Linked DNA regions of Homo sapiens: all the other regions are linked to region 1. Evidence: promoter capture Hi-C in human tissues and cell types (Jung and others, 2019). All regions are on one chromosome and are shown on one strand. The core of a region is centred on a gene start or on the middle of the fragment in contact, and the rest is flanking DNA. Distances in the headings are between cores, read along the strand shown.

Region 1 (4,417 bases), core at 1,086-3,585:
TGACTTAATACATGTAGGTTTTCTTTGATACTCCCAAGTCTTTCAAATCAAGAAATCCCTGGGAGGAAAATACAATAGAAGAGTTGGAATCAAATGCTGGTGGGCATGGACTATATGTGTGTGTGTGTGTGTGTGTGTATACACGTATATATATACACATATATATGTATATATACACGTATATACACACACATATATACATATATACACACATATATGTATATATACACACATATATATATACGTATATGTACAGACACACACACATACACACACACACACACACACACACACACACACACACATATTTTAGAGACAGGATCTCACTCTGTTGCCCAGGCTGGAGTGCAGTGGCATGATCATAGCTCATTGCAGCCCTGAACTCCTGGGCTCAAGCAATCCTCTTGCCTCAGCCTCCGGAGTAGCTGGGACTACAGGCACACACTACCACACCCAGCTAATTTTTAAATACATGTTGTAGAAACGGGGTCTCACTATGTTGCCCAGGCTCAAGTGATCCTCCCACCTCAGCCTCCCAAAGTGCTGAGATTACAGGCACGAGCCACTGTGCCGACTTTAGATTGTACTTTCAATCTCCCCTCTTTGTTCTTTATTGCTCTGAGCTGGCACTGTCTTGGGGGCATTCTGCCATCCATTCTGAGGAATTCACTGGCTGCTGATCCTAAAGGGCTTTGCAGTAATGAGAGAGAGAGGAGGAGGAAGGAAGGGAAAGATGGAAACGTAGCAAAGGGACCCCTGCCTCCCCTATGTCCAGGGGTCAAGTGTGCTCCAGGCATCCTTTCCAATCTCACCCCTGGGGGACAGTGTGACCATCTGCTTATCCTACTGGCTTTTTATTGCATACTTTCTTCATGCCTGCCACCGTGTTAAGCTCTTCTCTGACATTGCCTAACTTAATTCTCACATAGAGTAGGTACATTATTATCCCCATGTTATAAATGTTGTCCTGGGATTCAGAGAAGTTAAGTAATTTGCCCAAGGCTGCACAGCGGGGAGGTGGCAGACCTGCACTGGGCTCTGTCTAATGCTGCACTGCATGTGTCCACTAGCCATGCCCCACTGCCCATCTGGGTTTCAGGAGAAGACAGTGCTCACACACTGTGCTTTTCACTCACTGGGTATGATGCCCCCTGAGCTGGGCAAAGGGCAAAGGGCAGGGCCCTTGAGGAATTTCGGAGAAAACGAGATGAAAGGGAAGACAGGAGGGCCTGGGGGAACACCAGGAGGGTCCCGGGTCAAGGTGGCCCTGGGACATCCGAAGGGCTGCCACTGATGTCATGGAAAAGCCCCTCACCCCACACCTTAAGGTTGCCTGTCACATTCGGCTCCTGAATCTACAATAGCCATCAAGGAAATCCACTTCCCAAGGCCGACTGTCAGGGCATTCTAGCACCTGGGTCTTTGCCTGTGTGGATTAGGGAAATGGAAGGAGTTCCCATACCGGAGCTTGCCTAAGCTGTCTCCTAGGCAAAGACTTACTGTGAGGCCATGGGGCCCCAGAGCTGGAGGAGGCTGACAGGGAGCTTGTTTCGCCCCTCACACACCCTCCACCACCCTGCTGCAGCTTCCCTAAAAGTGGCTAATGTTCCTCTGATAAAATGTTCAACTCTGATGCCACATTGCTCCTTATATTAAAAAAAAAAGGCAAAACACAGCTGAAGTGATCTCTAGAAGCACATCCAGTCATCTCTAGAAGCCTGCAAAGAGGCCTCACTGACCTTTCCTTGCTTGTAGACATCGCCTCGTCTTTGTCCCAGGGTGGCTATGAGCATCTGGACCCCCTCACCCCACTCTCTCTGCCTCCTGAGCACAGTGAACTCAGACTGACTTTCTCCAAAGAGATCCAAGCATGAAGCAAATATTCATTAGTCTCCTAAATAGGGCCATACTCCACATCATTCCTTTTTTAAGGAGAAATCTTAAATAAGATTAATGGCATAATAGATCATTTCAGGTGAGTCAAATAAAAAAAATAAAAGCACAGCATTCTTGAGAAAGAGATTAGTTTTCATAGGCAGAAGCTTAAAGGCAAAACAAAATCCCAACCCACAAACCCTAAAGTAGCATTTTATTATAGCACCAACTTAGAGAAAGGCAAGCCCAGTGATGACTGGGTATCCTCGCAAGTCTACCCTGAACTTGGGACCCATCCCCAGGTGTGGGAGTAAAGAAATCATTGCATGATTTTCAATCTGGGATCGAGCCTTGATAAGAAACCAGCAGTCCTGACCACAGAAGTGGCCCCCCACGTACCTTGGCTCTCTCTGGAGTGTGCCTCTGGAGCCTCGAGCTGCACAGTCCCCCAGCACACCCTCTTGGCAGCCAGGTCCGCCCAGCTATATAGGAGCTGCCGGGGGAGGTGGCATTCCTGCAGGTCTCCAAATAAGGCAGCCCTTCCCTCCCCGGCAGACCAATCAGGGCTTCCTGGACCACTCCTTCATCCTGAGAAGGATGGACCTTCTCATCACACTTTACTAAGGAAACCACGTGAAAATCTTGATGAAGTTCAGCAAGGCTTCAGAGGTGCCTTTTAGAATTGGAATGAGATGTGTTAGAAGGAAAATGCTTTTCCCATCAATATCTATGACAGATGTGGCTTCAACAAGCCTCGCTGGACATGCATAGTGTCCTGTACCTAAAGGCCGGCCTTGGACAGCAAAGCAGTCTTTGCTGACAGCCTCTGTGGGGAGGTTCAGCTCAAAAAGAGGGCAAGCGTTCACCTGGACCACCACGCCCTGAGGATGGGACCAACAGGGTGTGTGTGTGGTGGTGGGGGGGGGGGGCGCCGGGGGGCGGTTACACTTTCATCGGGTAGTGGGAAAACAGAACTGGTAGGTATGGGGTGGAAGACACGTGAGAAGACTTCCTGGCATGTTGGGCGAGGAATGCTTGAAGGACTGAATTAGCCCAAAGGCCAATAAGTTAAAGATCTGCGGGAACCCCGGGAGCAGAGACACATTGACACGCAGCCAGTCCCCTGGACAGGTGGTGCGGGCTGAGGGCGAGTTCTGCAGAGTGCCTTCTCCTCTACATGGTGTCCGAGCGCTGCGCAGAAGGGGCTGGAGGTGCATTCCTGGGCTTTCCAAAGCAAGAGACTCATTGGTATTGGGTGACCATTTTGGGCCTTATACAGAAGGGACTTGCTCAGGTGTCCCTGTTACAGTTAGTACTGCAAGGCAAAGTCAAAAGTGAATATGGGAGCAAGTATGGGGCCAGATTTTCCTGTAAACAGAATGCGATTTTTATGCTGAATGTGACCCCGTCAGTGTTCACGGTGGATTTGCGTCAGAGCAATTTTGCAAACCAAATTAAACGGTTGTTATCGAGAAGGACAGCAGATAGCGCCAGAGAGCTGACAAAGACCGCAGCCGGTCGGTGGGAAACCCGGGCTTCTGGGCTCTGGGTGGATTTGGGGCCTCCGGTTGGGCCTTTCTTTCTCCTCTGACTTTAACATTTGTTTCACTTCCCCACTTTTTTTTTTTTAAGAACTTTTCTATTTCCTTTCTAGAACCACAGACTTTTTGTGCTTCTGAATACACACAAAACAGAAACACAGTAGTGTAATCTTAGTACAGACTGTTTGCAAAATGGAGATGAAAAAATCAAAATCTCCTAATAGTTCAGTACCCAGAGACAAATGTCAGGACAATTTTGTTTCACATATAGATACTTAGGGCCACAGTGTTTAGAGCTAGAAAGGACTCAGAATTCTGTGGTCCAGCTCCTTTGCATGGTGAGCTCACAGGCCCAGATAGGCTCAAGGTCACCCAGCCAGGCCGGCAGTGCAGCCTCGGCAGGCTCGTTGTCCCATTGTGAACTCTGTGCACTATCCCCCTGCCTGTTCCCACTAGACACAATCATCTCCAACCCCCTCCACCCCTCTTCTTCCTATTCCCTTTCTAAGCAGGACTTTACCCAGAGAATGGTGGGAGGTTGGTTTAGAGCTGACGTGGCAGCAGATTCCTCTTGTTAGTGAACAAAAGGCTGTTTACAAAGGCACAGAGGAATGGGGAAGACTGAAATTGCTACAGAAGCAGGGAGGAGCTCTGGAAGCTGCAAACAAGGCAAGAAAACAATAAGCAGATGTGGAGAATGTGGAGCCGACCCAATGCTGCCTCGCATCCTCCCTCCCTGCCTGTAAAGATCGACAAACAGACCAAGGAATTAGTGTGAGAACATTCATTTCTTCAAAAGAACTGAGAGACCAGGGCCAAGTGAATTACACTATGTTACATAAAGTGGATTATATTATATAGTCTGGGAAATAGAACTGTGTGTAGATCATCTTTGAGAAAGCAGGAAGAATGAGATGGAGACCACAGATCTGGGTGTTCTATGATGCAGGGGTCTATGACATAGTTCTCTAGATCGCGTAAATAATAGAAAATTATGCCAG
Region 2 (4,417 bases), core at 737-3,236, 190 kb before region 1:
CTATCATCAGCATTTTAATCCTTTTCCCATAAAAAATTCAGTCCTCAAGAACTGATTTTTACCATTTGATTTTTAAAATTAAATTTTGCATTAAAAATAGGCCATTAGAGTATCTATTTTAATAAGCCAAAGGAAAAAATGTTGGTAAGGTAGACTAGTACTTCCAGTAGAACTCTTCATCTGTAAGAACCATTTAGGCAAGAACTATTTAGGCAGCCCCCTGCACGTAAATAGATCAGAGACGAGCCAGTCAGACAAGAGCATTTCCAGCTGGTGTCCCCGTCTTATTACAGGCTTCCTTAGAGGATGGGGGTAGCATGGAGAGGAGAGCTACATCTCAGCTGGGCAACAGGAGGGTAGCAGGGGGAAGCTGGGCTCTGAGGTCCCCAGGGACAGACAGCTGGACCTGTGCAAATCATAGGTTTTCTAGGTCAGTAGTATTTACAGTTAAATAAACTTCCTGGACTAGCCTGGCAAAGTAAACCTTCCTTTTTTGGATGATTTCTGTGGGTCAAACACATTTTGAATTGGCTTACAAACATTCCACCCCTACCTCCTGCCAGTCTCTTTGGGACTGGCACCTCCATCCACCCAGCTTCCCAGCTGAGAAACCCAGCCTGGACACTTTACTCCCGTGCCCCCTGCTGTGCTGTGATGGCATCTCCCCGCTGTACTCACCACAGAGCTCCCATCCAGACAATCTTCAGGGGGCATTAAGTCCACATCATTGCTCTCTCCTGAAGCTGACTGTCTTTCCCAGACCACTGTTAACACCTTTGCCCAGCTCCTGTCTCCTCGTGTGCCAAAGGGTCATTCCTTTACCCCACCCATCCACTCTCCTGCTGCACCCAGAATGGCTGTCCAGTGCTAGCATCTGATTGTGGCACTCCTGTTCTTGGCATTTCTTTGTGGCTACTGACTGCCTCCTGTGTAACAGCGGAATTCCTTGGCGGGGCACTCAGTCTGGACTGAGCTCCTGCAGGGAGGCAGGACTGCATTCTCATTGCCTGGGATACAACCACAATTTGTTGAATGAATGAATATGTGAGCTTTTTTTCTAGGCTTAGGAGTGTCTGCATTTTATAATACAGATGTTCCTTGACTTATGACAGAGTTACACCCCTAAAATGCATTTAATACACCTAACCTACTGGCAATTCATAGCTTAACCCCGCCTACCTCACATGTGCTCAGAACCCTTACATTAGCCTGTAGTTAGGCAAAAGCATCTAACACAAAGCCTATTTTATGGTGAAGTGTTGAATATCTCTTGCAGTTTCTTGAATACTGAAGTGAAGAGCAGAGGGGTTGTATGGGTACTTGACAGTTTCTACGGAATACATATCACTTTTGTACCACTGTAAAGTCAAAAAATCCTAAGTTTAACCATTTAAGTTGGGGATCATTATACTTATTTGTGTATGTATAAGTAGTGAGTGGAATGTGTCAGGGGAGCAGTAGGAATTGCTAACTCATTTCAAAATCTATCTTCTTAGTGCCATGTATACAGATGATTTTTTTTAATGTATCGAGGTGAAGTTTGCATAACATGAAATTAAAGTGAACAATTCAGTGATATTTTAATACACTCACAGTGTTATACAGCCTCGTCCATTTGGTTCCAAAACATTTTCATCTCCTGCAAAGGAAACCCCTTACTGGTAAAGTTGCTGTTCCCTGCAGCAACCCGAGATAAATGCAGGTGAAGGTTAGTTTGGCTAGAGTCAGACTTTCAATCATATCTAGGTTTCTCTAATGATTTAGTAACTGATCCGTGTTTTAGGAGAGTTCATCCTGAGAGCGTGTTGCTCTTGGCTTCTCAGTGGGTTGAGCACTGCTGCGATATGACTTGGAGCACAGTTCTCTCTGTAAGTTAAGAGTTTCATCTCGTGGACCTGAACTTGGCCAGGAATGTGTATCCTCCCAGCAGCCAGTTTTTATAGGTAAACCAGCTCCACAAACTCAGTTGGCTTGTGTAAAAAACTATAACATGTTTGAGAAATAATTTTAAAAGCAGGTCTTTATTTGAAGTAATGTAAGAGAATTCTGCTCTGTAGGAGTATGTACTAATTAATTGAGATCTCTGGCATAGTTTTTATTTTTATTTTATTTTATTTTTTATTTGTTGAGATGGAGTCTCGCTCTGTTGACCAGGGTGGAGTACAGTGGCACAATCTCGGCTCACTGCAACCTCCACCTCCTGGATTCAAGCGATTCTCCTGCCTCATCCTCTCAAGTAGCTGGGATTAGAGGCGCCCATCACCACGCCCAGCTAATTTTTGTATTTTTAGTAGAGATGGGGTTTTGCCATGTTGGCCAGGCTGGTCTCGAACTCGTGATCTCGGGTGATCTGCCTGCCACGGCCTCCCAAAGTGCTGGGATTACAGGCATGAGCCACTGCGCCTGGCCTCTCTGGCATACTTAAAAACCCACTTCAGACCTAGGTTATAATCTGTATGACCTTGAATGAGAAACCTAATTTTTCACTGCCCTGATTTCCTTGACTACAAAAACACATGAATTGGGAATCTCTCTGGACCTCCTCAATCCAAGCTGTACTGCTAGGATTTTAGTCTTAAATTTCTTCCCTATTATCAAAATAAATTGTACTTACTCATTTTAGGAAATGACCAAAATATAAAAAGGGGAAAAAGTTGGCAAAAATGGCCCTACCAATTAAGGACAACCACTGTTAGCATTTTGGAGTATGTCTTTTTTTTTAAATTATCCATTTTTAAAAAAGCAGTATACAAATAACACAAATACATCCTGATCATAAAAGATCCAAACACTTACAAAGGGTTGTGAGTAAAAAGATGAAAGGTGTCTGCTATTGCCGTTCTTGTCCCTAAGGCAGCACCCTTCCTACTGGTTGTGATTTTCCTGTATGCTTTTCTGTCCTTTTTAGACAAGTGGTGGGGTCATTACAATTTTCTTTTTTAGCTCAGTTGGGATAATTCTAGGCTTATTGTTTTATAACTTTTTAAAAACAGTATTTCTTGGAGTTTTTTTTTAATTAGTACATCAGCTAGCTATTTATTTATTTATGTATTTATTTAGAGTCGATGTCTTGCTCGGTCACCCAGGCTGGAGTGCAACCCCCACCTTTCATGTTCCAGCAGTTCTCCTGCCTCAGCCTCCTGAGTAGCTGGGACTACAGATGTGCAACGCCATGCCTGGCTTATTTTTGTATTTTTAGTAGAGACGGGGTTTCACTGTGTTGGCCAGCTGGTCTCGAACTCCCGACCTCAGGTGATCTGCCTGCCTCAGCCTTCCAAAGTGCCAGGATTACAGTCCTGAGCCACCGTGTCCAGTGCTTTATTATTTTTAATGGCTGATTATCTCCTCTAAATGAGTGTATAATAATGTAACTGTGTCTTTTTGATGGACATTTATGTTGTCCCCAAGTATTCAGTATTTCATAAATTACAGCAGTGATCAACCTTGAATATATATATTACCTGCATGGATATTTCTAGAGGATAAGCTTCTATGAGTATAATTGCTGGATCCACAGAAATACCTGTTTTAAATCCCATTGCCAAATTTCCCTCCATGAAGGCCATTCCACCAAGAGCATGTTCTCTCCAAGAACACAGGAGAGTAACTCTCCCCCATACCTTGGTCAATACCTGGTTCAGTTTTTTAAGTTTCCCTCTAAGTTTGTTTTTTTTAAAATAAAATTTTAATAATTATTTCCATAATTTAAAATGATATGGAACAGCTTTTCATGTGTTTTATTGTATATATGTTTTTCTTCTATGAATGATATATTCCTAGCCCTTGCCCATTTCCTTTCCATCCTTTTTCCTTAGGCCTCTCAGGGATGAATTGGATCGTTTGGTTTTATTATTGGTTTGAGGTGTTCTTTACGCATATTGATACTGACCCTTTTTATATCTGCTGCACTGTATTTTCTCCTAGGCCATCACTTGTCTTCTGCTTGCTTTTAGTGTATTTCACAATGCCAGAATTTGAACTTTTAATATACTTTTTAAATCTGTAGTTTTTAAATGTAGTTGCACTGTTAACCATATATACAGTTACCTTAATATTTATTACATGTGCATTTTCCTTGATATTACTCTGTGTAAAAATCTTTTCCCTTGTAGTATTCTGGGTGTCAGTGGCCTATAACTAGTTATTTGAGCCATGTGTGGTGGCTCATGCCTATAATCCCAGCACTTTGGGAGGCTGAGGTGAGTGGATCACCTGAGGTTAGGAGTTCGAGACCAGCCTGACCAACATGGTGAAACCCCGTCTCTACTAATAATATAAAAATTAGCCAGGTGTTGTGGTGGGCACCTGTAATTCCAGCTACTCGGGAGGCTGAGGCAGGAGAATCGCTTGAACCTGGGAGGCGGAGGTTGCAGTGAGCCGAGATCACGCCATTGCATTCCAGCCTGGGCGACAGAGC
Region 3 (4,417 bases), core at 890-3,389, 180 kb after region 1:
TTGGATCAAGGCAATTAGACTTCCAGTAAGTGACAATTTTCCCTTAAGTAACAGCTTTGGCCCTGATATTGTGCTGTGTTTGAGATTAAACATCTGAAAGATCATGTGGCCATGAGTTCCGAGCAGTCCATTATATCTGGATGCAATTTTATTCAATCCATCATAAAGGGAGGCATCTTCAGCGTGCTCTGTCATCAAGGGGAAGAGATACATGCCAGATCAAGCCTCAACAGGTCCTGAACGTGCAGGTTAGTTTCAGAAGTTGTGGGTTGCAAACCCGCTCAGAACCCCTATTCCTGTCTCTCTGCTCCCCTCCCTTAATCTGCACCTGGACACATGAGGAGCTCCTTATGATTGGCTAACTAATGAGGAAAAAATTAGAGCTTTGTGTACAGGTGACTATGCAGGTGACTATGTACAATATACCATGGATTACAGTGGTATTAGAGCCCTACTCAGATGTAGCTTTGAAGCATAATAAAAAATGGGAAATTTTTCTGTGGGCAGAACTTTAATGATTACAGTATATATTATTTCCCACTTGTCCTGGACATAGAGACAAACAATTGTAAGGATTTACACAGACAGTTGGGCAGTAGCTAATTTTTTGGGTGAAGGTTAGGAACTCAGAGAATGATTCAAACATGAACTATAAGGAAGTTCAGGAAACATATGTGGGTCCAAAATATGAGCATATTTCTATCCTGCATACATAGTACTAGAAATCCCTCACTTCAGAAGAATACTTTAATAACCAAACAAGGATGGTCTTATCTCCTCTGGATGTCAGTCATCCACCTGCCCCAGCCACCTGTGGTGTTGCTCACATTGCCCATGACCAGGGAAGCTATAGCGAAATAAACTTTCCCTTGCCACCACTGCTGACACCCCAATGTGGCAGCAAAACAATTATCCTCAAGACCCTTACATGAAGCCATACTGAATACCTGGTAGCCAGTAATTCCACTGGACCCTTTTCATCACAGAACATGCAGTCATTATTTTTCTTATCAAACTATTAATAAACACGTCTGGGAGCTGAGTTTTCTGTTCTTACACACGGATGTACTGAGAGCCTTGTTCACTATTATGGCTTCTATTCCATACTACACTTATCCTAAATAGGGACTCACCTCAGTGTGCAAAATGGAAGACAATGAGCTGATGGGATACACTGGTCTTATCACATTATGTTCCCTATAACCCAGAAGTAGCTGACCTCATAAAATGGTGGAATGTCCTGTTAAAGACACAGAAAAAGCAAAAGAAGGACTTCTGAGGAATTAGAGGCTTTCAGGAGTGAAACATTGGTTACTCCACTTGGAAGGAATCCTACTGACTGAAAGACTGAATAAGGGCAAAACAACATCAAATGGGCAGGATTCACACATAATAGCTACGGCATAGTGACCAGCTGCATAAAGACCAGTTAGTCATGGTGAAATCTATCTTTTAGTCCATAGGTTACAAAATTGTGAGATGGTATTATGGCAGACCTAGAGGATGAATAAAAAATACCCAATAACATAGAAGCAAACACTGAGGCAAGAATTTGGGTTCATGCCATTTAAGAGGTGACTCTAGGAAGTATCAGTAGGACAGTGGGAACATGAGATTGAGGAAGAGAAAGTGCAGGCAATAAAGGATACACTACTGTGCATATTATCAGTGTGAGCAACTGGAGCATAATCCCAAAGGATTAAGCACTCTGGAAAACTGTAGAATATACACCTAAGAGTTCTTCCAATAGTTCCAGAAAGGGTGAGGAAAAACATATATTTGTCTATTAGTTCCTTTAGTCATTGGTTGAGGGCTGCTCCCAAAGTGGTGATAACTTTTAGACATTTCCTTCCCTACCCCAAAAATGGTCAAAGAAGTCTCCAGTGGCCAGAGAGAGCCTACAGGCAAAGAGTGCTGGCAGTTGGAAGTCAGGGCCAGCATGTACTGAAATAGTACATGGTAAAGAGATATGAGATGCACTTAGAGATTCTATCCTGGGAGAACAGGGGCCTGGAGGCCTTGATTCTAGGTGCAATAGCTGGCTGAGACTTTCAGGAAGGAGTACAGTTGAAGGTTTACGTGGTATGATTTTGTAATGTTAGATGGCAGCATTTGTAAAATTCTGTGAATGGAGATATGGACAAATGGATAGCTGAGGAATAAATGTAGTGGATATCTATGGCTTCCATCTGCCCAGCATCTCTTTCTTTGGGAGAATTGCAGGCCCCCCTCCCTTTCCTTCATGCCCTGCCACCAATATTCTCTTCTGGTAGAGAAACTCATCAGAGGATAACCCACACTCCTGCTCTACTGACCACAGGTGTTGAGCACATGCCCAAACTAGGCCAAATTCCTTCTCTTGGGAGCATCTGAGTGGGAATGCACAGGGAGGTAAGATGGTTGGTTCTGGAGTTGTATGAAGGTAACAGTGTAATGATGAAGTCTGGGAATTTCTGTCTGTGAGATCCCTGAATCTTTCCTGACTACATACTTCCAGAGACTGGTTTATTAAGCTCTTTAGTTCTATAAACTACCAAGCATATTTTCAATAAACCCCTCTTTTGCTTAAATTAGGGTCAGTTTAGATGCCTTACCTCCAAACAAGCTGAACTCAGGCAAACATTCAAAGTTCCCTGGATGTCAAAGCAAAAAATTGCCTGTATAAGAAATTACATGAGTCCTATTTCCAAATAATTTTAGGTTTATTTTCCCCAGATTATATTAATTTCTCTGAACAAAATGGGACTTGAAGGCAGATGGAAACTTAAAGCTAAGTATCTGCCTCTTTCATGTTCAAAAGGAGAGGAATTCGTTAAAGAACTAAAAGACCAAAACATGGACATGGAACTAACTGTGATACAAATTGATTAAGCTTCAAAGTGCTGAAATCTTTAGAAGATGGAAATCGATAAAGAGGGAGAAACTGGGGAAGTTTCTTTAGCATTAATCTTTCTGAACCACTCTTAGGAGAAATATACATCCTTCCCCAAGGAGAAGGCACTTTGGAGGTCCTGTAGATTGCCCAGTTGAGGAAGGGCGGGAGGAGAGGGATGCATGAAACCCAATAAGCAGGCAGCCTGAGTTGGTAGTCAGCTCACCTTCCAACTGGGAATTTCTTTGCCTATTGGAGAGGAAATTTGGCAGCAGCTGACTTTTGGATAATAATGAGCTGTTGCAAATAAATGCCAAGGAATGTTAAATGGCCCATGATGTACCAATCTACACTGATTTATTGTCAATGGCTAATGAGAGGGTAAAACTTAATTAAACACTTTAAGATATGGCTGATTTAAGAGTCCTAATATTGTGTAAAATTGTAAATATCTTCCCAATTCAATTGCAAGACTTTAAAGATAAACCTTTTAAATTTGTATTTAATACCTGTCTTAGTTTGGATTGCCCCAGAAGCAGAGCCTAAGATCTCTAGAAATAACTCATTTTGCATAAAAGAAACTCTGTACCCTTTGACCAACATCACTTCATTCCCCTTCCCCCACAGTCCTTGGCAACCACAATTCTGCTCTCCACTTCTGTAAGTTTGACTGTTTCAGATTCCATCTATAAGAGAGATCATGTAGTATTTCTGTTTCTGTGTCTTGCTTATTTCACTTAGCATAATGCCTTCCAGCTCCATTCTTATTGTCACAATTGGCAGGGTTTCCTTCCTTTTTAAGGCTGAATAATATTCTGTTGTACACATACACCATATTTTCTTTATGCATTCATCCATCAAAGGACATTTAAGTTGTTTCCATATCTTGGCTATTGTGAATAATGTGCAATGAACATGGGAGTACAGATATCTCTTTGCAAACATGGGTTTTTTTGTTTTTTGTTTTGTTTGTTTTTTGAGATGGAGTCTGGCTCTGCTGCCCAGACTGGAGTGCAGTGGCCCGATCTTGGCTCATTGCAACCTCTGCCTCCCGGGTTCCAGTGATTCTCCTGCCTCAGCCTCCTGAGTAGCTGCGACTACAGGTGTGCACCACCATGCCCAGCTAATTTTCATATTTTTAGTAGAGATGGGGTTTCACCATGTTGGCCAGGCTGGTCTCAAACTCGTGACCTCAAATGATCCAACCACCTCAGCCTCCCAAATCGCCGGGATTACAGGCATGAGCCACCATGCCTGGCCTTTTTTTTTTTTTTTTTTGAGACTGAGTTTCCCTCTGTCGCCCAGGTGGGAGTGCAGTGGCACGATCTCAGCCCATGGCAGCCTCTGCCTCCCATGTTCAAGTGATTCTCCCGCCTCAGCCTCCCTAGTAGCTGGGATTACAGGAGTGTGCCACCACACCTGGCTAATTTTTGTATTTTTAGTAGAGACGGGGTTTCATCATGTTGGCCAGGCTGGTCTCGAACTCCTGACCTCAAGTGATCCACCTGCCTCTGCCTCCCAAAGTGCTGGGATTACAGTCATGAG
Region 4 (4,417 bases), core at 1,429-3,928, 160 kb after region 1:
CTTGAGGATGCAGAGAACTGGATGACTCATATTTTGCTGGTGGGAATATAAAATAATACAGCTGCTGTGGGAAATAACTTGACAATTTATTTAAAAACTAAACATGCAGCTGTCATATAACCCAGCAATTTCAATTCTGGGCATTTATCCCGGAGAAATGAAGACTTTGGTTTACATGAAAACCTGTACATAAATGGTTATAGCAACTCCAAACTGAAAACAACTCAGATGTCCTTCAATGATGAGGATTAAACAAGCTGTAGTGCATCCATACCATGTAATACTACTCAGTGATAAAAAGGGATGGCAACTGATACATCCAGCAACCTGGATTAATATCCAGACAGTTATGCTGAGCGATAAAAAGCCAACCTCAGAAGTTTACATACTATATTACTCCATTTATACAGCATTCTTGAAATGACAAAATTATAGAAGTGGAGAACAAATTAGTAGGTAGCTGGGAATTAAGGAGAGAATGGGAGTAGGAGGGAAATAGACGTGGCTATAAAAGGGCAACATGAAAGACACTTGTGATAAAAATGTTCCGTATCTTGACTGTGTCAATGTCAATATGCTGATTGTACTGTTGTACTATAGTTTTGTAAGATGTTACACTGGGGGAAACAGACAAAGGACCCATGGGATCACTCTGCCTTATTTCTTAGAACTGCATCTGAACCTACCGTTTTCTCAAAACAAAGAGTTTAATTTTAAAAAAGAAGCTAAAAATATTCCAGCCATTGGGAGCCCTTCAGTTGGCTCCTGTGTCCCTTTGACTTAATGTGGCTTTTTGCTCATTTTGCCAACTTTAACACCACATGAATCATTCTATTCTTCCTCCTTTATATGTCAGCAATCTCCTACACTAACAGGAAGAAATCTGACTCCCAATATCCACCCTCTAATTACTTAATGGTTCAGTACCAGTATACATGTCAACCAGTATCAGAATTGTGAACCCATAACCCCTTGGGAAACAACTTTATCGACTACAGTACCATGCTTATATAGAATCCCTTTTGCCTTTAGTCTTACAGTCTCCACTCATTTCCAAGGTTACTTAGGTCAGCATCTCCCCCTGCCCAAACGCACCCTTCAATAAGGGTATTTCACACATTTGTAATACAATTAGACTTTTTTTCCTCATAGTCTGCATTTCATCATGGGATCTCCCAACCTCTTAAGTAATTTTCTTTTAATTTGTGTATATTAATGTTCACTCTTTGTATCAAGTTCTATTTATCTGTCATTACAGCATCATACATAATAGTCACTCCCAAAATAATTCCCTGAGCTCCACCTATTCAAATCCTTCCTCTCATCTGAACCCTGGTAACCACAGACCTGTTTACCATCTCTATAGTTTTGCCTTTTCCAGAATGTCATATAAATGGAATCATATATTATGTAGGCTTTTAAAATTGGCTTTATAAGCTTAACAATGTGCTTTTAATCCATACATGTTTTGCTTGGCTTGTTTATTCCTGTTTATTGCTATTGTATTGATGTACCACAGTTTATCTATTTACCTATTGAAGGACATTTGGGTTGCTTTCAGTTTTCAGTGATTATGAGTAAAGCTGCTGTAAACATTCACATACAGGCTTTTATGTGGACATAAGTTTTCAAATCAGTTGGATGAATGCCTAGGATTGTGACTGTTGTATTGTATAATAAGACTATGTTTAGCTCTACAGAAAAACCTGCAAAACTCTCTTCTAAAGGGGTGGTACTATTTTGTATTTCCACCAACAATGAATGAGAGTTCATGTTGCTCTACAACCTTACTAGCACTTAATATTGTCAATATTTTCTATTTTAGCCACTCTAATAGGCACGCAGTGTCATTTCATGTTGGTTTACTTTGCAATTCTCTAATGACAAATAATATTAAACACCTTTTCATATGTTTATTTGCCATCTTTTTTGGTGAGATGTCTGTTCAGATCTTTTGCCCATTTTAAATATGGGATTGTTTTCTTACTGTTGAATTTTAAGAGTTTTTAATGTATTTTGGATACAAATCCCATATTAGGTATATGGCTTAAAAATAAGTCCTTCCAGTCTATGGCTTATCTTTGATCTCTTCACAGTGTCGTTTTTAGAGTAAAAGCCTTTAATTTTAATAAAGTCTAATTTAAACTCTTTCTTTCAATGAATTATGCTTTTAGTGAGTCTAAAAACTCATTAGCAAACTCAAGGCCACATAGATTTTTGTCCTATGTTTTCTTCTAGATGTTTTAAAGTATTACATTTCATATTTAGTTCTATCATTCATTTTGGGTTAATTGTTGTAAAAGGTATAATCAGTGCTTAGACTTTTTTTGTTTTTTCCATTTAGAAGTTCAATTGTTGCAAAACAATTTGTTGAAAAAATTATCCTTTTTCCATTGAATTGCCTTTGCTCCTTTTTCAAAGATTAGTTGACTAAATTTGTGTGAATCTATTTTAGGGGTCTCTATTTTGTTCCATTGATCTATGGGTCTGTTCTTTAACCAATACCACGCTGTCTTGATTACTGTGGATTTATAGTAAGTTTTGAATTCTGGTAGTGTCAGTCTTCCAACTTTGTTCTTCTTTAGTATCATGGTGTCTATTCTGGGTCTTTTGTCTTTCTCTATAAACTGTAGAATTAGTCTGACAATATATACCAAATAAGTTGCTGGAATTTTGATTGGGACTGTATTGGATCTATAGATCAAGTCAGGTGTTATCAAGAATTGACATCTTAACTATATTGAATCTTCCAATCCATGAACATGGAATATCTCTCCATTTAGTTAGATCTTGTATTTCTTTCATCAGAGTTTTATAGTTTTCTGCAAATAGATTATACACATATTTACCTAAGTATTTCATTTTTAGGGTGGTATTGTGATATTGCATTTTTAATATTAAATTTCAATTGGTTCATTGCTGGTGTACAGGAAGGTAATTGATTTTTATATATTAACTTTGTATGCTGTGACTTTGCTGTAATCAATAATTTTTTTTGTTGGTTTTTTGGGAATCAACAAAAAGCTCCTGATTATAGGTGTTTTTTTCAAAGACCATTTTATTTCTTCTTTCCCAATCTGTATACATTTTGTTACTTTTTTTTTTTTTTTTTGCACAAAGTAGGACTTTTAGTACATGCTGAATAGGACTGATGAGAGAAGACATCCTTTCTTTGTTTTCCATCTTAAGGAGAAAGTATGTGGTTTCTCATTATGAAGTATGATATTAGCAGGAGATACTGCAGTGCAGGTGTTGCTGTGTGCTCTCCTCTGTGTCCTCCAGCCATAGAACAGAGACAGCTTTATACCAGCTGCAGCCCTGAGTAGCCATCCCAACTCTTCTCAATGTTCTTATTTGAAGGCTTTTCTTCTAAAAACAACATTGCAGTTAATGTCTTGTACACTGAACATTGCCCAATCAGTAAGTAGATCTGTAAGGTATGGTCCTCATAACAGAATTGCTGGGTCGAAAATATACACATTTGTAATTTCAGTAGATATAGCCAAGTTGCCTTTTGCAATGTGCATTTCCACTGCAGTGCATGAAAATGACCATTTTCCACACACTTGCCAATATCATATGAGCCCATAGGCAAGTTACTAAATTATCTGTACTTTAGTTCCTTCATCTGTAAAAGGGGGTAATAATGAGATTCACCTCATGGAGTTACTGTGAGCACTAAAGATGTGTTAAGTATTTGCATCAGTGCCGGGCACATAGTACATGTTCTATAATTACTAGTAATTATTCTTACAATTGTCAAATGTTTTGATATCTGACAATGTGGGTGGTGAAAAGTAGTACATTTTGTTGTAGTAGTTTAAATTAACATTTATATTAAGTGAGATTAGGCGTTGTTTCAATTGTTTTAAAACCATTTGCACTTCTTTTTTGTGAATTGCTGGTGCAAATCCTTTTACACACACATATCGCTTCTGCTCATGTGCCATTGGCTAGAATTAGTCATGTGGTTACCCCTAGATACAAAGATGGTACTGCTTGGAAATATAGTGCATTGGGCTGCCTCTTTACAGTGACCGTTTCATACTGTGATTTGTTTCCATATTTGTGCCTACCCCCACTTTTTTGGACTAAGATAGCTGACAGTTTATTTAATTTCGCATTTTTTCAAACAATTAGTTAATAAAGTAATTTATTAATTTTATTATTTTTTGTTTTTCTATTTTAAATTTATGTTTCTGTTTTATATTAAATTTTTCTTTCAATATGTAATGTTTAGGTTTATTTTGATATTTTTCAATACTTGTGACTGGGACCTTTATTTATTTTCATTTGATCTCAATTATTAATATATTGAAGGCTAAAAGTTTCCTCTGAACACTGCTTTAGCTATGTCTCATATGTTATCATATATCTTCATATTCTACACAATTGTCAGTTCTGAAATTTTCTTTTT
Region 5 (4,417 bases), core at 1,205-3,704, 160 kb before region 1:
ACTGACTAGGCTCTCTGGGGCATTTCAGGATTTGGATGTGTGAGAGTTCCCAGCCCTGCAAACAGGAGGAGTCAGTTTAATATTTTACCCTCAAAATTATATTAAAAATAGTGATTAAGTTCTCATGCTAACCCATAAAGTCACTTTAATGTGACTTAGCTGAAATGCTGTACATTTCCATTAAAAAATGGTAGTCTTTTTGAATAGCTAAAGTGTTCATGAAGTCAATATGAAGTATCTAAAATATAATCAAATCATGTCATTTGAGGATCTCTGCATTTAGTTTGAGGATGTGGGCAGCAAATTTAATGGAGATTCTGCAAGTTTTCTGGGCCCTTTAAAATATATTAGAATGTCTTTAAGTATTTTTATGATTAAGCAGAATATTTATTTTATCTGCTGTCACGTTGTAACTTACAGCTCTGTAGATCTAGATCACTATTATGATTTATCTGTAATCGGTGATTAGGGCAGTTTTTGATTTACAAAATGAAACAACGGAGGGAAATTTGTTCCTGTGATAACCAATAAGAATTTTAAAGGGAGGAGGAGGGAGGTAAAAAAGCAGAAATACACTGATGTTTAAAAAGGAGTTTATAAGCTCAGCAGGAAAGAGGGAACCTCAAATGCCCGCAGTCTCCCGCCTGCAAGAGGAAAGGTGGTGATGGCAGGGGCCGGTGTTGGGGTGTTGGCACTGACCACGGGGCCCACCCTGGAGCTGCCTGGGTGGGAGGAGAGTGGCAATGGGGAGGATGAAGAAGCCACTGGCTGTGGCTGCATGGCACAGGAAACCTTTGCAAACTGGGGCTTTTTCTTCTAGGTGTGCCTGCATTTACTCATGTGCTGTATGTCTATGGAAAAGACTGTTAAGCTGTCAAATAGTGAACTACCTCGGTAGTTCCCGATGCCGTGATCATGGTTTTGGTCTCGTTTCTTTTAGGTTACCCCTGTTTCAGGCCAGTGCTTTTGCATTTTTGGCCCCTGCTCGAGCCATCCTGTCTTTAGATAAATGGAAATGTAACACCACAGGTAATTGCAGTTATTTCCACATATGTCATTGGGGTCCTTTAATGCAGGTGTAAAGGGAGGCCTGGACGTGCTGCCCTCAGCAGCGCTAAATCCTTTCAAGAATTAGGGACAAAGCACACAAACCCACAAACAGCTTAGAATGCTCCATCTGTGGATCGTGTCTGTCTCTCTCTTTCTGTCCACTTGTTCATCCCTAACCCTAGAGCAAGAAAGGATCAGAATTGACCTCATTTCTCTATGTTAATGAAATTGACAAATATGGGAACGGAATAGAAAAATATTTGTGCTATTTTTCTGCCTCTCTCTTTCAGTGGATTTTATGACCCACCAGTAATCACTCTCTTTGCTGCGTCAGCATCCCTTCTCTGAAACATCTTTGCTTTTTAAGGATCTGGCTACTGTGGTTTGCTGCAAATGACTTTCATTCCCCTTCTTTAGTGATTGCAAAGATCCTTAAGGAACCCGATAAGGTCAGGAAAAGATAGGGAATTTAAGAAAATTAGAGTCAGACCTGTACTCTCAAAAATACAATTACATTTTGACCTTCTAGGAGCAAAGTTTTCCAGCCTTCATTTCCTTCCTTGCTCCTAGGAGTTACTTTGTGACCACTGATTTGATCTGGGAACTGGAAAAGGCCCTCTGTTTTATCTAAGTTTTTCAAACCTCAGTCCAGCAACCTTGCTGTCGGGCATTTCAATGAGCTGTGTGCAAAGGTTGGTTTTTTTGTGTGAGGCTGGTGCTAGTAACGTGTATCACCACTTCAGTTAGCTTTTGACAATTTGGGGAGCTCTTAGTCGATGAATTCATTTGGTTAAATTAGCATTTGAGGATCCACCTTTCAGTGAGATAAGCTATACTGTTGGAGGTTGAATTTTAGGGATGGGGATTGAAACAGATGTAATAAAAACAGGGAGAAAATTCTTCTTAAAAGGTAAAATGAATATGTCATGTGAGACATCAGTGTCACTCCAAGAAAAACTTTGTTTTTGTTTTCAAGATGTTTCAGTTGCCAATGGAACAGCAGAGCTGTTGCACACAGAACACATCTGGTATCCCCGGATCCGAGAGGTAAAAGACAAGCGTTGTCTGCTTTTGGCTTCTTCATGTTTCTTCTCAGCTTCAATGTTGGTTGACCCAAGAAATAGCAGTTACTTTTACTGAGCCCTTCTTTTCTTTTTCAATTACTGATAGTTTATTTCTCTTGTTTAAGTAAATGTAGTTAAGCAATACTCTAAAATAAAGCATATGGAAATGCTCTGGGCAACCTTAAGGAATGGTTTCCTCCCTCCTGCACACCCACAGACCTGTCCACTCACACCCGCCAGCACAGCTAGCTGAGGTTCGTGGCTCACTGGATGGAGCTACAGAGGCTCATCATCGACAGATAGCAGAATTGTTCGCTCTGGCCTCAGTGTTTGCCTGTGTTCATTGAAAGAACTAAAGATATTTGTCTGCCAAAGTGCAATTGAACAGAAGCAGACATGAAGTACGGCTGACAGTGTATTAATATTTTCCAAAACGTGTGAGATAATTCACCATCAGTTCAGAATGAGCACAGATGTGGCCATTCTGCACACTAAAAACATCCCTTTAGAATTTCTGTCAACAACATTGTCTTGTCGATGTCCTGGGGGGCTCACTCTTTAAAGCTGAGAGTCTTTATGCTGCAGTGTTCCTCTAAGGCTGGTCTTTAAATGTTGTGTTTCTTAAAAGGGAATTATAAATTTTTGCCTGCATCGTTTAACAGTGAAAAAGGCATGTGGGCCGTGTGTCCAGGACCTATTTCTGTAATACACCTGCATCATGAATGCAGGCCCCAGTTAGTGCCCCCTGAAGTTTCTTGTCGGGTCCTGGGGAATTTTCTAGCTATCTCTCCCAAGTTAGATGATGTAATAACTTATTGCCTTGCAGAATTATCAGTTGTGGTTGTAGGTGACATTCTGAGTGTGCAGTGTACAAGCAGCTCACTCTCATGTCTGTGCCATCTCTTGTTGCAGATCCAGGGGGCCATCATCATGTCCTCACTGATAGAAGTAGTCATCGGCCTCCTCGGCCTGCCTGGGGCTCTACTGAAGTACATCGGTCCCTTGACCATTACACCCACGGTGGCCCTAATTGGCCTCTCTGGTTTCCAGGCAGCGGGGGAGAGAGCCGGGAAGCACTGGGGCATTGCCATGCTGTAAGTGGAAACATCTCCCCTCATCCCACCACTGCGGGGCAGCCTTTAGGAACATTCACACAGACTTCAGGAGATAATGTTTTTCAATAATAAGAATGGTCTGACAGTTTCAACTTTATTTGCTTCGTGCTGGGGAATAGTTGAAGGGTTTTTGACCCAGAGTTTGGGAAGTGACATATAGTTGACGTATTACAAAGACAGACTTAGCAGCAATATGAAGAGGGTGGATTGTAAGTTTTTAAGCTTTGGTAGTGGGGTAAGGTAGTGGCGCCATTTGTTTTTGACTTTTGAGGTCTTGCCAAGTCTCATGTTCATGAGTTGACATACTGAGAAGCCAAATTTTTATATCATGAGACTCAAAAATATTCCAGAGTGGCAGGAATCTGGAGTATTTCCAGAGAAGTCGTGGGAAAGGTCTGTTGCCATTGATGATGTGACTCTTCTCCCCAGGCCACACTGAGCTCTGCACTCCTGACGGGTGGGTGGTTGGGGGAGGGACATAGTTTCTGCCAGGGTCCTGCTAGTCAGTGCCTGTCCTTTTGTACAGAATGTCACATCCATTAAAGATGTCCCTTGCCCTTTAAGTAAAGTTAACATTTTGTGTTAATGAAGTCACAGGGGAGTTTGATAATATTACTGATGATTAGAGTCACAGAACTCTTTGTAACACAGAGCCCACATTCTCTATGTGTCTGCAGAGCATGTTTAAGAGTTGATTATGTGTAGGTATATGGTTCCATTACTCTGGAATTTAACCAGCCAGTACAACTCCTAAAACAAAATAAGTCATCACATAAGAGAATTTTTCATTTGCTCTGTTTTGTGAAATAGTCTGCAGTTATTTAATAACAGGTGGTATTTATTGATCTTTTACTATGCATCAGTCCTTTATATAACACTTGTATATAGTATCAGATAAGGCACATCCTAGTGTTATCCCATTTAACAGCAGAGGACACTGAGCACCACGACGTAATGTGATTTGCCCAGAGTCATACAGTGAATTAAGTGGCCACCGTGGGTTTCAAAACCCAGGTGGTGGACATGGGCCCGAACCCATCATACTCAATCCTGTTCTGTGTATTAGAACATGACGTACAAATAAAAGGGAACCATAGCAGAATTGTTATCTACACTTTACAAATTAAATTAAGGTGTGTGAAAATATCAAGTTTTTTTTTTTCTTTAAACAAGGTTTGAAGGAGACAC

What was found. The method cuts DNA at HindIII sites, captures the fragments that hold promoters and counts their contacts. A contact is called where the count stands out against the background at its distance.
Region 2: a contact is called between a fragment that was not itself captured here and the fragment with the promoter of PRND in region 1, in 2 of the 25 tissues and cell types used here (dorsolateral prefrontal cortex and pancreas).
Region 3: a contact is called between a fragment that was not itself captured here and the fragment with the promoter of PRND in region 1, in 2 of the 25 tissues and cell types used here (aorta and spleen).
Region 4: a fragment that was not itself captured here is called in contact with the fragment with the promoter of PRND in region 1 in 3 of the 25 tissues and cell types used here (H1 embryonic stem cells, aorta and mesenchymal stem cells).
Region 5: a contact is called between a fragment that was not itself captured here and the fragment with the promoter of PRND in region 1, in 1 of the 25 tissues and cell types used here (IMR-90 fibroblasts).

The regions. Positions count from the first base shown.
Region 1 is chr20:4,719,827-4,724,243 of GRCh38, reverse strand. It overlaps PRND (prion like protein doppel), which reads right to left and starts at 2,335. Exons shown (of 2, transcript NM_012409.4): 1 at 2,275-2,335. RefSeq lists an enhancer at 3,413-3,632. The HindIII fragment of the contact is 13,371 bases long and covers 602-4,417 here.
Region 2 is chr20:4,913,658-4,918,074 of GRCh38, reverse strand. The region is part of intron 3 of SLC23A2 (solute carrier family 23 member 2); the gene reads left to right. Among named protein-coding and RNA genes, the nearest start is that of SLC23A2, 86 kb to the left of the region's middle. The HindIII fragment of the contact is 4,047 bases long and covers 1-4,009 here.
Region 3 is chr20:4,538,306-4,542,722 of GRCh38, reverse strand. No RefSeq gene overlaps it. Among named protein-coding and RNA genes, the nearest start is that of PRNP, 150 kb to the left of the region's middle. The HindIII fragment of the contact is 4,645 bases long and covers 1-4,417 here.
Region 4 is chr20:4,556,527-4,560,943 of GRCh38, reverse strand. No RefSeq gene overlaps it. Among named protein-coding and RNA genes, the nearest start is that of PRNP, 130 kb to the left of the region's middle. The HindIII fragment of the contact is 5,419 bases long and covers 1-4,417 here.
Region 5 is chr20:4,882,433-4,886,849 of GRCh38, reverse strand. SLC23A2 (solute carrier family 23 member 2) reads left to right here. Exons shown (of 17, transcript NM_005116.6): 7 at 941-1,029; 8 at 2,027-2,097; 9 at 3,027-3,208. Among named protein-coding and RNA genes, the nearest start is that of RASSF2, 61 kb to the right of the region's middle. The HindIII fragment of the contact is 6,046 bases long and covers 1-4,417 here.